2 separate regions of the Homo sapiens genome follow, and region 1 is linked to region 2. The links are contacts of gene promoters, found by promoter capture Hi-C in blood cells and fetal thymus (Javierre and others, 2016). All regions are on one chromosome and are shown on one strand. The core of a region is centred on a gene start or on the middle of the fragment in contact, and the rest is flanking DNA. Distances in the headings are between cores, read along the strand shown.

Region 1 (6,524 bases), core at 1,852-4,351, 850 kb before region 2:
ATTTTCAAGTGCATGGGGATTCAGCATCCCTAACCCCTAACTTATTCAGGGGTCAACTGTACTTAGTCAACTGATTGTAGATATTTATCATGTCTACAAAATACCTTCACGGCAACACATAGCATTTGAATAGTTGATTATTATAGCCAAGCCGAGTTAACATTAGAGATGCTTTTCAGAATTGTAAATTGAGAGATGTGGAGAATGATGATGCCACTAATGAAGACAGGGAACATACGAAGAAGAGAAGATTAAGGGTGAGGAATGACAGAAATAAACTGTATTTCATAGATTCTAAGATGCACTTTTCTCCTTTACATTTTAACATCTCTGATGTTAGGACTCACCTTTAAATTGATGGGATCTTACCACTATAACTGGTATATTTTGTTCTTCATCATTTATAAAATGATGGTGCATCTTACAGTCAATGTCACCTTAGAGTGAAGGAAACAAGGTAGTAGATTTTATTTGGTACCTTGGATTTGAGGTGCCTGAGGAACACGGATAGCTCTAGTTCATAGAATGTATAGGCGGGAAACTCAGCCAAGGGACCTGCCACAGAGGTATGAGTCATCTATACTCAAGTAAAAGCTGAAGCAATGAAAATGCAAAAAATTCCCAGGAAAAATTGGTAGAAGTGAGAATAATAGTCAGCTAAATAGACAACCCTAAAAAAACAGCAAACTTTAAGGAGAGAATAAAAGGAAAAGAGTGGTTAGAACTAATAATCAGAATACATCATATAAACAAAGAGAGAAGATACTTTTTAAAACTAATGAGTAGCTGTCAATACCAAATATAGTGAGAGGACTAGCAAGTGCCCACCGAGTATGGCAACATGAGTGGGGGGGTCATTAACGAATTTTCTAGAATAATTCCACTGGAGTGGATAGGAAGCAGACAAGTTGCACTGGCTTAGAGGAATGAAGGAGAATTAGGAAAACGGAGGTCATGAATGTAAAATATTCTTTCAGGAAGCTTGACTAAAAAGGGGTGGAATAATGAAAAAGTTAAATAGAGAGGATAAGGTCAATGGTGATTTCTGCAGAAGTGACTCAGATTTGAACTCATTTCTAAGAAACGTAGAAAAGGCGTGGGCCACTCTTATGTTACTAAACCAAACAGGGGTCCCATTGCCCAGTGCAGTAAGGCCAAATATTCATACCGAGGTTGCTTTGCAGCAGGAGAAAGGAGGGCCTTTATTAGTAGGGTACCAAGCAAGGATAATTGGGCAGCTGAAATGTAAGACCCAAACTTCCAGATGGCTTGCAAGCAAGGGTGTTTAAAGGCAGAGGTAAATTTCAGGAAAGCAGAAGTTATAGGCAAAACTATAAATCAACACATAGAGGTGATACATTGGTTTGGCCTACAAAGGTGGAAGCAGAGTCAGGTGGGGCAGGGTGCTTCCAGGTCATAACTGGATTTCAAAGATTTTCTGACTTGCAATTGGTTAAAGAAGAGAAGCTTTGTTTAAAAATTTGGGATCAGAAGAAAGAAATATTAAGTCTGGCCTGTGGGCGTGACTTCCTCCATGCCCCTCAGGAAGAAATTTAAAGCAAGAGTTCAGTCCTCAATTACCTCTTATTTGAGGTCTACATGCCAGGGAATCCATTTGGTGGGGGTACCAGCTTCTAAGAAACAACTCAGGGACATATATTCTGATGTTCTCTTTAGTTTCTACAGGGTGAAACCGCCTTTGCAAAATTATAACTGAGGAAATTATGACAGTGACAGAAATCACACCTAACTGATTCCATCTGGCTCCTAATCTTTAAGCTGTCCTTCTTCATTCCTGAGGATAGGCCAAACTAATTTTGAGAAGGAATTCAGTTCATGGCTTGATTCTGAAACAAAATTGATAATAGACCTTTCCTGAAAAGACCCCTTCCTTGCCTGGGTACCAGTCTGCCTTTGCAGGACTAACAAATTAGCTACAAGATTAGAAATTACAGTTTAGGGGCATGCAGCCTCTGGCTCCAAGTTGCTGGGGATAACATCACTATTGCAAACCTAAGATCAGTGCTTGAGATATTTTGCAGAATCTGCACTGGATGGATCAGCAGACACCACCCAGACCAGTAATCTGGCTCAACCAGTTCTACCATCTCACCCAGATGAACAGAAAACAGCAAGAAAAAGTCAACTTCGACCCCCTATGGTTCCATCTCCAACCTGACCAATCAGCACTCCCCACTTCTCAAGCCCCTACCTGCCAAATTATCTTTAAAAACTCTGATCCTCAAATGCTCAAGGATATTTGATTTGAGTAATAATAAAACTCCAGTCTCCTGCACAGATGGCTCTGTGTGACTTAGTCGTTCTGCCTTGCAGTTCCCCTCTCTTCATAAATCGTCTCTGTCTAAGCAGTGGGCAAGGTGAATCCGTTGAGCAGTTACAAGGAAACCAAACATCTCAGAACTCTAATTCCCTTGGCTATAGTTTTAAGCTACTCTTGCCTTCTTGCTTATCAAGTTGCTCATTTACTTCTTAGGGCTAACCAGGTGTCTGGAAGTTCCCTTAAAGGAATTCAATATTTTTCTTTATTTCCATGTTTGGCAAGGGGAGCAGGCAGCAGCCCCCTAAGAAAGGTTCTTGCTTTGTCTCACTGAACACATGAATTTAAGTTTGATTATCAGATCATTTTTTTTTAACAACTTGAACTCCGAAGACATGAGGTAGTCAGAAAAAAAGGAGGAGTCAATCAGTCAGGATTCTGGCAAGAAACAGAGGGTAGTACATCTAAAAGTGTACTTTTAATCATCTAAAAGTGATTCAGAAGAAGAGTTCAATGATTGGACTATTTACAAAGATGTGAGCAGGAAAAAGGGAAGCTAACCCTAGAGTTGTCAAAACAGGAAATCATTACCACCACTGAAAGGTCACTCCCTGTCTCAGAAGGAGGTTACTGGAATCTGAAAAGACCTATACACTTAGGAAAGAGCTTTCTAGTAGCCATTGTCACCTACAGTCCCTCAAGAAGGGAGCCAGGGGATAAATACTCTGTTACTCTTTTTGAATGTACTTAACAGGAAAACAGAAGGCAAGGGAGCCTATTTATTGCAAACATAATGATCAGCCTCCTGGGGCACAGAGCAGAGTGGAGAAGGATGGAACGTGTATCTGGAGGAGCAAATGGAAGACACTCAGCAGAAGGGGAAAGACTTGTTTAAATAGAATAATACCAAGGAAAACAGGACTGCTGGTGAAGACAAAGAGGGCGTTTTTCACAGATACTTCATGTTCTAGCAATAGTGGAAAAACAATGCTATTTCAATTTTTGAGTAGTTAATGAGAAACTGATATTTCTAAATAAGAAAAGGCCGAATATCCTTGTTTTAATTAAAGTCTATTGTTCATTTTGTATTGTGCAAAATGAAGACAGCCAGTGATAGCTATAGTTCAAAAAAGATTCTAATTATTTGCAGAATAACTAAGTATATAATGTTTCAGCTTTATATTAAAATACAGCTTTCCTATTAAAAGGATGTTTCTAATTTTAAAAATATGAATAAATTGATGTTATAAAAAATACTGCTGGCTAGGTTTAGCCCTGAATAACAAGAAGGAACAATGTCAAAATTTGTATAGGCCTTTAGTATTTCCATTTAATTTTGAAATGAAGGTTTATTCATTTAAATTTTGGGTTGTTTTATTTTACTCTGTTATGTACTTAATCAAATATTGATAGACCAAATGACTTCAGTAATGTTGGCTCTGTATCTATTTCATTTTTTAGCATCACATATAGATAACCTTTTGCTGATACAGCTTAAGAATTGTACCAAATAAAAAGCCAATGCTATATCTACAAATGAGAACTTAGAAAAAAAAATCTAGCACCAATAAGATATCAAATTTTGACTTTTAAAATTACTTTTTCAATACATAAACATATGTCCACATGCATACTTTCTAGATGGATTGTCATTTCACAGAAGCCTTTTCTCATATTGAAATGGAATGCAGATTGGGTAGTTAAATTTGATAGTGAGAAATAAAAATAAAAAATTCTAAGCCCCCAACTGACTGAACGGACATCTCTCTTGGCCAAGGGGAATCGAGAGAAATCTTGGAAGCTGAATTTACAGTCATGACAGGATGGATGTTCAGACATGCCTCATTATAACCCCCTCCCTTGCTAACCACCATTAGGCTTTCTACTCTGAGGGCTAAACAGAAACTAGCCCTTTCAAAAGACTCCACACTGATAATGTTGATCACTAGCTTATCTTTCCTGGTACAGAACAAAGACAAGATGAAATCAATTGTTCTTTTACCCTTGCCTGAGATGTCTGCTTCCTCTATTCCCTTTTTCTTCACATGTTCACCTTATCTTATGTAAAATGTAGATTTATTAGGCACTAACTAAAAACCTTACAAGTATGTAATCATTAATTTCACTGCTACCTGCCCGCCCCTTTTCTTAAAGGAAAATATGTAAATACTAAACTTCCTGAGAACCTCTTTGGAAAACACAATCACAGAATGCATCTGTGACTTGCATTTTAACCAGGTGAACCCTCAGGCTGGCTCAATAAACATCAATGATCTGAGACTTATGCTTCAGTCACTCACTTTGATCTGTCAACGGAAAACTCTCAAGAAATTTCCTTTTTATATCTTTTAAGCAAACTCACACACACACACACACACACACACACACACACACACACACATACAGCTTTTTCTTTGCTAAGTCTGTATGTCAATTAACATCTGACCAGTACTAGAATAAGCTTAATTTTCAAGGGAAGATGGAGCTTCGTGAAAGATAGAGAGTTGTCCCATCATTTCTGATGATTACAACTCATCTTTCTTCAGGCCAGATTTTTTTTTTTTTCCTGATGTGCAAATACAAGTTTTCACAAGTTTCTTGAAAACCATTCAGTCTTTACCATTACCATGTACCCAAATCAATCATCTGTTTACTATTACCTAATTACCTTGTAACTTATACGTTTCTGGAGCTACCTGTAATCCAGTCTCATGGACTCACACTCAAAGAAACACCAGTTGGGCATAAAAATATAATTAGAAGCAAGGGAGATTTGATTCACGCCCATGAGAAATTACCAAAGGGTAATTAGAGTAATTATACTTCTTTTAAGTTCTCTTTAGACCTCACTCTCATATTCTCTCACATGTCTGCAGGGGCAGATTTACCATCATGTTAATGGAGCTTCAGCGCCAATGATCCACTTGCACAGGTGTTTTCCATGGTCCTGTGGAAAAAAAGGCCTAGCAATGTGTTCCCATGGACCTATGGTTTTTTTGTAAATTTTTGTAAGTAATGTATTTTTGCTTCAGTCTGTTGAGACCACTGTCTCTTTCCATTTTCACTTTCACATTTTGCCTCATATGAGTATCACTGGAGTGGCTGCAGGCATTCTGAGGCTCCAGCTCAGGTTAAGTAGGGTTAGGGATGCATTTAGTTTAGGTTGAGTGGGATGTATTTACATGGAGTTACTCTCATGTTTAGTTAAATTATTGCTAGGCATCCAGGTGTAGCAATGGCTTTCAGGAATATTCTTATTGCCCATGATTCCAATTTGATGTGCACTATGACACAAAGGCAAGACCAGAGGTCTATTTTTGAAAGTGTGGAGCCAAAATGAAGGCTATTTTCTAGATTTTGTGATGTCTGTGGTATTCGGCATCTGTTAAAATTTTCTAATCTGTTTTTCTCATTCTAAATTAAAGTTTACTTTTGAGTCTAACTTTGTATTCATAATTTTCCATTCTTTTTCTTGAGGAGGAGCCCCCACAAAGTTAAAAGCTTGTCTCCTGGATCCGCCTTGCAGATGAGAAAAAAATTCTCACTGCCCTCTCTCTGGTTCCTTCCCAGAAAACTTTCCTGACAGACAGACAGGCTGGCTTTTCACACTAAGCACCACTTCCTGCTTAACAGTGCCCCCATCACTGCTTCCGTCTTTCTGTTGCCTTTTCAAGTACACCTTTCTCACTCACGAATATCTTGCTAAGTATCTGGGTCTTCTTTTCCTAACTGCCTTCTTTTTGAGAAGTAGCTCTGTGTTTTGGAATTAAACATAAATAAAATCCTCCATCTCTTCCACAATTAGCCATTGTTTCTCTAACTTGAGCAATACATAAATTAGTCCTTTTTAAATGGGAAAACATTTTGGGGCAATCTAATGACAACTTATTTTCATGATGCTATTTAAATAAGTAAAAATGTAAAACAATGGATGAATGCCTTAATTTTATAGGCCTTATACAACTTTACAACAAATAAAAATTCAAGTGAAACTTAAAAAGAAGATAAAATCATGTTAATAACATTATTTTAATGTGATGCATAGTGGCATTTGGCTGAAAAAAAATCATTCAGTCCTGAGTTTAATAGTAGAAAGATGCAGACTCATGTCTGGTTTTATAATTAATCTCTTTTGACATTTTGATTTCAATAATGCAAATGTAGAAAATGTCTATTCCCATAAGTATATGGTACAAAATGGTATTAATAACTTCAAGTCTTTGTTTGCAAATTAAGTATAATCAGG
Region 2 (6,553 bases), core at 417-2,916:
GTTGGTCAGGATGGTCTCGAACTCCCCACCTCAGGTGATCCGCCTGCCTCGGCCTCCCAAAGTGCTGGGATTACAGGCGTGAGCCACTGTGCCTGGCAAAAATCTACAGGTTTTCTACTGTCAATTTGCATCAAGGCCAGACTACTTTGTCTGGCTTCCCAAGTCTTCCATAACCCTATCATAGTTTACTTATGCAGCCTTATCTCAAAAGTAGTACCTTTTGTTCCAGTCTGTTTTCCAAGGTACTTCAGGTCTTCATGCTTTTGTGCAAGCTGCTCTTTCTTAATATCTCCCTCCCCAGTCCCCATCTAAATCCAGCGTATCTTCAGGACAAGGCTCGTAAGTTCTACCTCCCACATAATGTTTTTTTCTGTTCATTGGAACTCACCAATATCTCCCTAGTAGTTATTTGTCAGAGCTATGTAGTATAAGCTCTAATTTGTTTAATTACTGAGCATCTTCATTGCCATATCCATTCAATTTAATTCCAGAAACATTTTTGAGCCCCTGTGCCAAGAACAGGGCTAGGTAGCAATGAGGGTCACTTTTATGCAGGGACAGGGGCTAGAAATTGGCCTTACTAAGAAGTGTAAGACCGACTCTTGCTCATTGCCTTTCTTAGCATCTGCTTCATCGCAGGCAAGGACTGTGTTTATTTGGCTTGCATAAGCCCCATATTAGAACTTCCTCATAATATACAACATGCCAAATCATCGAAACTGCGTCACCCGGAGTTCAAACTTCATGAGCCTGGATTAGGGTCTGGGTTCCAATGAAAAGTGTTTTCTTTAGTTCTCTTTCTCTTGCATTAAGGATCACTATTTACACAGCTTCTTGTTAAAGTATCACCGCCTAGTACTTGGGTTCCTGGTCACACTTTCCCCCTTATGGAAGGGCTTACTGCCAGGTCTTTCAGACTCTGGAGCCAGACTGCTTTGGATTTAAATCTCAACTCCTCCACTAGTAGTTCTGTAATCTGGTCAGGTTACTTAACTCCTCTATGCCTCACTTTCCTCCCCTGTGTAATGAGGATAACAATATCATAAGGTTGGGGAAAGGGTTAAATGAGCTAACAGTTCGTTTAACAGAGTAATCACTCAATGAAATGTTATCCCCTAATACATGTCACTACTAGATTATTTCTCGCCCTTAAAATGTAAGAGACCGTTTTTCCTCTTTTCTTCCATCCGTGTCTCCAGCTTCTAAACTGCAGGCGAATAAACCTCGAATGAGTAAATGAACCCACCCAGTCGCTAGTTATTTCTGCATTTCCAATGTTGTGCCAGCAAGAGCAAAGGCAAATGGGCAAGTCAAAGTAGGCTTCTTGTAAAAGGTCTTCCATTACTGGGTTTTACTAGAGGCCCTTGCGGACCATCACATCTCAAAAGGGGGGAAAGCTCGTATGAGGCAGTGCCAGCTACCTTTCGGGAATCACCTTGGGCAGAAGGCCTTTTTGCAAAAAGACTCGGCAGCCCGGGCCCCGTAGGTTCGGCGCATGCGCAGCGCGCTCGGCGCCCGGGTTCCTTCCTCCGCGCCACCCGGAAGCCTCGGCGCGACCCAGTCCCCCTCCCCCTCCCCTCGCCGGCTAGGGTGGTGCGTGCCGGCAGGCCGGTCAAGGAGGCGGGACACGTCGGCGCTACCACCGCCACCGCCGCCGCCGCCCCTCCTCCCGTTCCAGCTGCCGCTGCCGCTTCCTGGGCTGAGTCCGCCCGCGGTCCCGGCGGCGCCAGGTGCGTTCACTCTGCCCGGCTCCAGCCAGCGTCCGCCGCCGCCGTAGCTGCCCCAGGCTCCCCGCCCCGCTGCCGAGATGGCGACGCGCTCCTGTCGGGAGAAGGCTCAGAAGCTGAACGAGCAGCACCAGCTCATCCTATCCAAGCTTCTGAGGGAGGAGGACAACAAGTACTGCGCCGACTGCGAGGCCAAAGGTAGCTTGGACGTCGTCGCTGCCCACGGTCGGGGCCTCTTGCGACCGGTGACCTTCCCGCCGCTGCGGCGCTCGGGGCCCGAGCGGACGCCTCGGCTTCGCTGGCCGGCTCCTGCCCTGACTGGAGGGCGGGTGGCTGAGCGGGCGGGCGCGGGGCTCCTGTCGACCCTCAAGTCCGCCAGAGGCGGCGGCGAGGTCAGGCCCGCAGGCCCTGTCAGTGGCCCCAGCCTCCCCTCCTCCCAGACACGGGTTTGAGCAGGTGCCAGGGTAGCGATGCTCGGACCCTCCACAGGGCTGGGGGTAGGAGCGAGGCTGGGAGCGCGGAACCGGGCACGGGTCTGGGCAGAGCTTAGGGTTAGAGAGTTGCCCTCCTAGCTCTGCTCATAGCTATCTCTGTGGGTGGGGCCGCGCTTAGGTCTGGATCCCCTCCTCTACCCTCCGGTGTGACCACGTCCTCCCACTCCGGGCTCGGATTCTTGGTCTCCTAGATGGAGCCCTACCTGCCTGCCCACCTGACAGCTTTTGTACAAGGCTTTTATCTCTGCTTCCTGAAAAAGAGTATGGTGGTCTTTTTCGGTGGGTTTGAGTTTTACGGAATAAATTAATTGGAGAAAGGTCTTTATTAGTAGTAGTATTGTTTTTTAGTCTGGTTATTAGCCAGAATGAAGAGGAATTTCATTACATGAGTCTCTTGGAGGACGGTGGGTTTGTATTTCTGAAGATTTTAGTAATTAGGTTTTCTCTGACCAGCTAGTTTGGGAGAATATGTGGACACTGATTTGTGTACCTCATAAATGCTGAAGGTTCATTTTAAAGATCTAGAGATGGAAAAAACCTAATTTTAGTTTTTTCGGTTGGAGGGCTTCTGCCTCAGCCTTTGAAACAGATATACTATTTTTAGCTGCTATGTTTTGTGTTTGGAGATCTGATTTATGTTTAATGTCTTGTAAGTAATCTCAAGGGAAATATTTCTTTTTTTTTTAAAGAAATGTCTTGTGTAGTTAAGAAAAGATCGTGTATATTTTTAATTGGTTTATTTCGTTATTGGGTGAGAAATAGGGTAGTTCTCTAAAGCAGGAGACAGTCTCTTTGGGGAATGTCCTTTAAGATTTCTGTGTTATTTGACTTAGACTTTTCCTGAAGCTTTACTGTTCTATCTCAATACTATATAAATGAGTCACATTTCAGTAGGCTGATAATATTTGACTAGACTGAGCCACACAGCATCAGCAGGTTACTTCACTGTCGTAACAGGTACTGAATTACTAGAAGAATCATGCGGGAATACTGTAACTAGATTATTTTTATGAAGCACTTTTCAATATAGTAACTTGATTGAGTCAAGATTATATTTATCCTATGTAACCTTTTCAGGTGATGAGTTTTTACAAAGTCCGTGCCTGGTTCTTGTAATACTTGTTTTCCTAGTAACTTGATTGTGTGTGGTTATTTGGGAGTTCTGCACTGTGTTTAGGCTCAGTTGCTTGCTCATTGACTGCACTAGCAAAACACTGAAAAATGGTCCTTTAAAAGGCCAAGAAGAAGAAAGAAGCTGAAGCTAAATAGTACACATTTTGTCATTTTGAGTAATAACATGGTTAAGTAGAGATGCTGGTAAATATTAAATCTGTTCATTAAAAGTCGAATAGTAACAGTTTCAGAATTAACCTTCCTTCATCTACAGACTTTATTAAAAATAATTTAATTTTTGTTCAAATTTCTGTCTCCAAAAAAGTACTTTATAAAATCAGATTTTCACTAATGCTTTCTAAAATAATACAGATTTTTAAAAGCCATTATTAACCATGTTAACTTTTTTTTTTTTTATTTACTCTTTTGAGGTGGGGAGAAGAGAATCATGTACTTCTTAAATTAGGATCAAAAGTTTTACTTCTTTGGACCTGAAGAATAGGAAGTATTCGTTTTGCTCAGTGTTTGTATTGCCACGGAAATCAGTAGATATATATTGAATGAATGTCTTTTGTATTTTGGTTTTGTCTGGCCTTTTGTTGGTTTACTTGTTTTGAGAAGTGAAGGAAGTGGGAGAGAAGAGAATGGTATCAAGAGTACAAGGGTGCAGCTTGAAGGGCATGAACTCCACAGTATAATTTACAAGGATTATTTTTTTCTTGTTGCTACTAAATCTAGAAGAATATTAAAATGATCTTGTAAATAATTTCATTGTTTTATCTTGATCTTTCAGGCAAAAAATCACAGGTAAGGCCACTTATTGATTTAATTAGACTTGATTTCATGGTTGTAATAATTGAAAAATTCGACATGATAGAGCAATTGATGTAAATATATTTTCACAGTTTTTGAGTATTTGGTAAGGTTGAAGTACATTATGGAGGCTTTTTTAGTAGAATTCTTGGCTTGTTACATGATTTTGGATCTATATGCTAGGATGACATAATAAATATAGTACTTTTAAAAGATATGTTAAAGGTCTTACTCTACAGCTCAGTTACTAAGAAGTTTCATTCTGTGTATGTATTGATGTTTTCTTCACTGTCTAGTAAATTGCATCAAACTTTTCATGTACTGTATTTCAAAGTTATTTCCTAGTTAACTCAATTTTCTTTCTTTCAAAGAAGCTTCTTCCACTGATCTTTGAGAATATGTACCAAAACTAAAGCTTAGGATTTGAGGTGCCTGTATTATCTTGCCTTATCATAGTTGGTAGAGGTATGTCAATTGGGTTTTGACATTTTCTTACTGAATCACCAGCTGTGTTTCCTGGATTGACAGTATTTAGGAAGCAACGAAGGAGAAAAGGATGGCATAGGCGCCAGTTTCCTGCTCTTGATCCTGCTCTTACCAAATCTGTTGAACAACTGGAGAATTTAAGAACAGGCAGATGGAACTACTCCTCCTCTCTCCTAGCTGCATTCATGACTCAGTGGGAGTTTAAAGCAGCTCTTGTTGGTTATTAGTTGGTGGCACTTTAGGGAGCAGTGAGGACTGGGAATGCCTTGCCAGCTTCAAGTTTAGTTTTCAGTATTTAAAGTGTTATCTACAGGTAATTCTAGCTTTGATTTTTGTTTTTTTTTTTCACTTCTCTATTCTTTCACATGCTCTGAATAGGGCATCTTGTGTTGGACATCAGGAGTAGCCTGAACTTGGCTGAGTAGGGCTCCTAGAAAACATCGCTGGGCTTGGCAGGTACCACATTGACATGTCCCATGCTTGTTAATGTATATTTCTGAGATTTTAAAAGTGCATTCAAGACCAGCCTGGCCAACATAGTGAAACCCCGTCTCCACTAAAAATACAAAAACCATTAGCCAGGCATGGTGGCAGGCACCTGTAATCCCTACGTGGGAGGCGGAGGCAAGAGAATTGCTTGAACCTGGGAGGCGGAGAGGCGGAGGTTGCAGTGAGCCGAGATCGCGCCACTGTACTCCAGCCTGGGTGACAGAACAAGACTCCGTCTCAGGGAAAAACAAAAACAAAAACAAAACATATAGATAAAATTCACATTGAGCGGTTTCTTCCCACTATCCCCTCTCCCCAGCCCTTGGCAGACACTATTGCATGTTCTATCTCTGTAGGTTTGGCTGTTCTGGATATTTAATATAATACAACATATGAACTTTTGTTTCTGACTTTGACTTCATATGTTTTCAAAGTTCATTCATTTTGTAGCATGTGTCGGTACCTCACTCCTTTTATGGCTGAATAATATTCCATTGTATGGATAGACCACAATTTATCCGTCTATTGATGAACATTTGGTCTGTTTCCATCTTTTGCTAGGTTTGATTTTGAGCATGTTTAAATTGGTATGAAAGTGAGTCTCTTGCCCATTCAATTTTGGGTAGTCAGAAACATAAGGTTTTTTAACTCTAGAGATTGTTTTGTTTAGCCTGTCTGATATTGAGAGGGTAAGCTCATTGCTGAGATCAAACACTCGTTTCTTTGTTCCGCAGATCTTGACTTGAAGACACACTGTTAGATATTGTATTAGGTAAGAGAGCTAAAAAAATTTGTAAGACCTAAAGGAGTTTGTTTAGTGTGGGTTGTGTTTTTGCAAATAAATGATTCTAAAACGATGTGCTAAGTGCTTGTAATAATGGTTTTAAGAAATAACTACCTCTATACTTATTTTGGGCTGTTGTTCCCCTTGCACCTTGACTTTTGCCCATTGGTGGTCTTTACAGTTCCTAGAATGCTGTTTCAAGACCTTTGCACGTGCTGTTCTTCTGCCTGGGAAGCTTTCTAACAAGTTTTTGCCTGCTCAGCTTTTGCTCATCTTTCAATTCCTGCTTAAATGTCTTTTCAAGGGAAATAATTCTCCTTGATCCTCTGAGATTAGGTTAGGCTTCCGTTTATACATAAAAGACAACACCCTGAATCTTTTATTGCACTTATCACAATTGTAATTAAACATTATTTAGGTAATTATGGGGTACACTGTATCCCTGCTGGATTATAGCTGTAAGAGAGGAGACCTTGTTTATCTTGGTTAGGGTAGTATCCCCAGTTTTCAGGACATGTGGTAGGCAAATGTAACTTAGCAAATATTTTTTGAATGAATGAATGTGTGAATGAATGAGCACAGAGCCCCTGGCAGGCAGCAGGGTGTGTGAAAGGGAGTGCACCTGTGAAAGGGAGTGGCATGTGGAG

Evidence for each region. The method cuts DNA at HindIII sites, captures the fragments that hold promoters and counts their contacts. A CHiCAGO score of 5 or more calls a contact.
Region 1: a fragment that was not itself captured here is called in contact with the fragment with the promoter of SMAP1 in region 2 in 1 of 17 cell types (activated CD4 T cells); the score reaches 5.6 in activated CD4 T cells.

The regions. Positions count from the first base shown.
Region 1 is chr6:69,810,865-69,817,388 of GRCh38, forward strand. No RefSeq gene overlaps it. Among named protein-coding and RNA genes, the nearest start is that of LMBRD1, 17 kb to the left of the region's middle. RefSeq lists enhancers at 5,142-5,461, 5,572-5,641. The HindIII fragment of the contact is 3,272 bases long and covers 1,466-4,737 here.
Region 2 is chr6:70,666,217-70,672,769 of GRCh38, forward strand. It overlaps SMAP1 (small ArfGAP 1), which reads left to right and starts at 1,667. Exons shown (of 11, transcript NM_001044305.3): 1 at 1,667-1,925. The coding sequence starts at 1,808. RefSeq lists silencers at 1,449-1,848, 1,999-2,228, 2,349-2,408. The HindIII fragment of the contact is 2,958 bases long and covers 1-1,874 here.